2 separate regions of the Homo sapiens genome follow, and region 2 is linked to region 1. Evidence: promoter capture Hi-C in human tissues and cell types (Jung and others, 2019). All regions are on one chromosome and are shown on one strand. Each heading gives the region's core, a stretch centred on a gene start or on the middle of the fragment in contact. The rest is flanking DNA. Distances are from core to core; before and after follow the strand shown. Region 1 holds the start of OR2F2 (olfactory receptor family 2 subfamily F member 2). Region 2 has its middle 22 kb from the start of OR6B1.

Region 1 (2,632 bases), core at 1-2,500:
ACAGTAAGTAGTACTTTTTTTCAGTTTTTATCAGAACATAAGAGTGGAGATTGAGAAATTGTGGAAGGTTCTGTTACAGCAGTAGCTAACTCCACTAATCATACTGCTGGGATATAAAATTATCCCCACATCCCACACCCCATCCAACTCAACCACTCAGCCTCCTACATAACATCCCCAGTACATGTTACATCATCTCCTTCCCGGTTGCCAGAGCAACATAGTTTATCCCTGCCATATCTGAGCTGGGTGGAGAAAAATGAGGCAAAGCTTCTTCTTAAAGTAATGTTCATGAGTCAAGTTCCCAGCTTGGATGTTAACCCAGAGAATTTCTCTAATAGTTTATGCCAGGCCCCCTTCACCTCTTTATTCCTTAGACTATAAATCACAGGGTTCAGCAGAGGCATAACAATGGCATAGAAGACAGAGATCAGCTTCTCTTGAAGGACTGAGGGACCAGAGTGGGGCTGGATGTAAGTGAAAATCGTTGTGCCGTAGCACAGGGCAACCACCGTGAGGTGAGAGGCACACGTGTGGAAGGCTTTCTTTCTTCCTTCTCTGGACTGGATCTTTAGGATGGTGGAGATGATCCGGATGTAGGACAACAGAACCAGGCAGAAAGGTGTCATCAGAAGAACAATGCTAGACACCATGATGGCAGCCTCATTGGAGGAGGTGTCCACACAAGCCAGCCTGACCACAGCTAGGAGTTCACAGGATATGTGATCAATAAACTTGTTAGTGCACATGGGCAGCTGAAAGGTGATAGCAGTCTGCACAAGAGAGTTGATGGAGCCACTGACCCAGGATGTGATGGCCAACCTAGCACACAGCCCTCCATGCATGATGGCCGAGTATCGCAGGCGGTCAGACACAGCCACATGGCGGTCATAGGCCATCACTGCCAGGAGAACAAACTCAATCCCACCCAAGGCCAGGGAGAAAAATAACTGGGCTGCACAGCTCTGGAATGGGATGGCTTTATGTTCTGCAAGAAAATGTGCCAGCAGCTGGGGGACTACGCTTGTGGCATAGGAGACATCGACAAGGGAGAGGTTGGTGAGAAAGAAATACATGGGAGTGTGGAGTCGGCTGTCCAGTCTGATCAGAAGGACAATGAGACAGTTCCCCAGCACTGTCATGAGGTATGTGACCAAGAACAGGGAAAACAGGGATATCTGAGTGCACCAGTCACTGGATAAGCCAAGGAGAATAAATTCTCTCACCCACGTCTGGTTATCTATTTCCATTTAAAAATGTGAGGAATATTAATCTGTAGAAAGAGTCAGAAAAAAACAGAAGCTGTTGAATCAAAGAATCATAAGAATAACTTCTTAGGAATGCATACTGTATACGACATTCCAGCCTTGGCCAAATATTTTAGATAATTCACAAGGCCAAGATGACAGGCTTGTTTCCAACATACACTATATTTACTTTGCATTAGAGAGACAGTAGTGCTTTCATAAGGACATGATGTGGACTCAAATAAGCCAGTTAAAGCCTGTAGATAATGCAGTGCAATTTTTGGAAGCTTTACCTCTTTACTAGCTTACCTCAGTATCCAGGGCAGGGAGTTTGTTTTCTGATGATGTCAGCAAAAAGGAAGAATAGAAAGTCCCAGGCTCTACTCTTCTCCACAGAACATTCAACTAGCAACTATCCCCAGACCAGAATATCTCTTTTAAAACTCCACTACTTGGACACTAACATGAGACAACCACAAGGTACGTGGAATGAAAATTGAATTAGAAGGCTAAGAAGCATAGTTTCACTTCAACCCTGCCACCTTGCCTCCTGCCAAAGTCAACACAACACCAGACAAAGAGGGTTTTCCTGGGCCCATGGTTTTTACAGGAGGAAAGGAAAACTAGAGGCAGTCATTCAGCATCTCTAGTTTTCCAAGATGCTTCTCAGAAATCCCACTCTGGGCTTATCTCATGGAGAACACTGGGGGTAACAGCATAGCTAGACTACCTGGTGTCAAGTAAAAACAAAGAAAGGAGGCAGAGGTCTTAGTGACCAGCACACAGATCATGGCATTACCTCTGTGTTCTTGCTAGCTGTGGTGCCCAATCTGAGACACTAGTCAACTTCATAGTTCATTTACAAAGCTAAGCTGGTCATCTTCAGAAGCATGGTGGGAAGTACAACCTAGCTTGAGGCCTTAGATAGCTAGTCCCCATGTCCAGTCTCAGAGCCCACACCAGTGACCTCTGCCAAGACAAGGAGATACACACCTCCACCCATTTCAGAAACACACATGAGGTAGACCTGCTTAACCCAGGAAGTCAATCCATGGCTCTACTCAGCTAAAAGGCCCCATCAAGGACATCTACATGCCTTTCAGAGAAGCATGAGGGCTAGAACTGTTTGACCTGGGAAGTCAAACTCAATTCAGCCAAAAGCCCATCTTAAAGGGAAGAAACCCTACAAGGAAGCTCCACCTTAACAGGGAAGCAACCATCAATTGTGTTTTTCTGAGTGTAGCCTCTGGCCTCAATCATTCTAAGCAGCAACTTCTCCTAACTTTGGAGTTCAGCCTACAGCCCTGCCCAACTGCAAATCCCAGAAAGCATAATTTTCCAGCCAGGGAATAAATTCTGTGACTAGTCTGACCAGAAGCCATTGC
Region 2 (2,632 bases), core at 93-2,592, 43 kb before region 1:
AGCAATATTCAGATGGTTGCTCATAAAATATTCAGGATTTAGTATTGTTTGTTTAATAGGGTCCGAGACACCAAGGAATTTATTAAAAACATAGAGCTTTCAGAAACTGGGTGTCAAATAAAAATTCGTGAAAATGATCACTTAACATGAGGCACCACATTCAATACCTTGCACTGAGAGTTTTCAGTCATCCATCCCAAAATCATCAGACAATTAATGCTCAGCTATAAGACTGGGGAAAAAAATGCACAATGCTTAAAGGTGTAAGGTTGTTCATGGTGTGAAAAGATAAAAGGATTCAAAATATCACAAATAGGTAATTTATAATTAAGAGCAATATTTTGCTCGAATGTTCAGAGTTAACAGATTTTAATCCCCATAACTAAAAATAATAACATTGTTAATTATTTTGTTTCCTTTCTTGTAATTTTCTGTTGTGCTATATCTATTTGTACATCAATTTCTTTTTGTTCTGCCCCATTTTATACTAGCATAAAAAGTATTTGTTCTAGAGACATATGAGTCAGGAAATTTCCTAGTCATGAAAGGCCTGATACAAATATGCACTGGTGATGTTTACAATGTCCATCTATCCTGGTGTAAATGTACTTGTGGTACCCGAATGCTTTTTAGAGATTTACCAACAGCTGAAGAGACTATATTACATAATACCACTAAGTGTAAGACCCATCCGTTCTTCCTCTTCCTACTACTTTGTTCCCAACCTAGGGCTTCCTACACTGTAGTTCTCAGAATACAGTTCAGATTGAGGGGGGTTGCTAGGTTCATTTTGACAGGCAATGGAGTTTTCTAAAAAATTCATTATAAGTACCTTCTCTGGGGGTGTTATTTTAAATCTGAAGATTTGAACTATATTTCCTCCATATGGGAGCGTTTGCTTTTTTCCTTCATTTTCTCCTTCCCACCTAACATCATGATGGCTGCAGATATCTGCAAATCTTCAGGTTTAGAAGGGAATTATAACTCTCTATCATCTATCTATCTATCTATCTATCTATCTATCTATCTATCTATCTATCTATCTATCCACACACACACTTATATATATTACACACACATACACACTCTCCAATTGCTTATTGCTGACAGTATGAATACTGAAGGAAGTACTAGTTGTTTATGTTTACTATTTTGTTATAGGATTTAAACAAATGAACTAAACAACTATGTATATCACAAATAAAACTTAAAACATACCAAAATGGGATGCAGAATTTCTCGGAAATGTTTCTATGGTGACCTGCTCTTTAAAGGAATACCAGTGATTTGTCCTACATCGTATGCAAGACTTACTTCAAATACCCTTTCTTTAGTGCTGCCTACCAAGAGCTCAAACGCAACTGTGATGCAGCAAGTTTTCCAGATACTATCATTGGGGATGACGTGCACACAGGTGGCATCCATGTGGAAATTATGGTTAAGGTTGGATTCGTTTATACTTGACACTTCTATAACAAAGGCTTAAAGAAAAAAAGTGAACAAACATTGAACAAACAAAATGTATTTTTCTACCTTTCTCCAAAAACCTATGCAAAAGGAGAGTATTTATACTTCAAGCCATGTTGTTTTTGCTCAGAAACAATGTAGTCGATTTGGGTTTTTTCCCCACAAAAAATATATTTGATATTTTTTAAGGTGACAGGCATTAAAGTCAAAGCAAAACCAGTTTCTTCGTAAAATCGTTTCAAATAACTTACCCAACTCAATTGCCCAGTAAATCATTGAATGATTGGATTTGGTTTCAGAAAATTTTCTTCAATTTGTCTACTATTTTTGTGGAAAGTGGTGGGAAGAAAACAAGCAAGCTCCTGAAGCACTCTTGGCTAGGCAAAGTCCAAAGTTCATGGGGTGGAAAGAATATTAGGAGAATAATTAAGTTGTGAGTGCATTGATCTCTATATGACATTGGGATAACCTTATACTTACTGTTTTCTGAGAACATACTCTGTGCCAGTCATTATGCTAAATATACATCTATTCACATAATATAATATAGTGTAATCACAACATCATTTCAAACTTTTGCTTGTTGTCTATATTTTACAGGTGAGAAAAGGAGGTGATATGCCTAGAAAGTGGGAGTCAGTAGGAAACCAAGGATTATCTGTGAATCTGGTGTGCATCCATTGTGCCACTCCTATCTATAGCATGGCCTTGTGTCATGCACAATGATAGTCACTGTTTAGAGCAGGGTGTCCAATCTTTTTGCTTCCCTGGGCCTCAAAGGAAGAAGAATTGTCTTGGGCCACACATAAAATACACTAACAATGATGATAGCTGATGAGCTAAAAAGAAAATTGCAAAGATGATCTCATAATATTTTATGAAAGTTTATGAATTTGTGTTGGGCCACATTCAAAGCCATCCATGTAGCCCATGGACCATGGGTTGGATAAGCCTGGTTTAAAGGCCAAGGAGTAAATGAATGTAAAAATCAGATGAATCAAGAGGACTAATTGAGTTTCTACTTTTGATCTCATTCAGTTCAGAGACTGACTATTCCAAGAGTCACAGTGCACCGGAGTACGCTTATCCCCACTTGCCCATGAAGGTGACATTTGGCTTTCTAGCCTCATGGGGAACAGGTCAAAGAGGAGAAACACCAGCATCT

Evidence for each region. The method cuts DNA at HindIII sites, captures the fragments that hold promoters and counts their contacts. A contact is called where the count stands out against the background at its distance.
Region 2: a fragment that was not itself captured here is called in contact with the fragment with the promoter of OR2F2 in region 1 in 1 of the 25 tissues and cell types used here (hippocampus).

The regions. Positions count from the first base shown.
Region 1 is chr7:143,933,851-143,936,482 of GRCh38, reverse strand. It overlaps OR2F2 (olfactory receptor family 2 subfamily F member 2), which reads right to left and starts at 1,250. Exons shown (of 1, transcript NM_001004685.1): 1 at 297-1,250. The coding sequence starts at 1,250. The coding sequence ends at 297. RefSeq lists an enhancer at 402-901. The HindIII fragment of the contact is 4,199 bases long and covers 1-2,632 here.
Region 2 is chr7:143,976,718-143,979,349 of GRCh38, reverse strand. It overlaps the pseudogene CAPZA1P5. Among named protein-coding and RNA genes, the nearest start is that of OR6B1, 22 kb to the left of the region's middle. The HindIII fragment of the contact is 4,953 bases long and covers 1-2,632 here.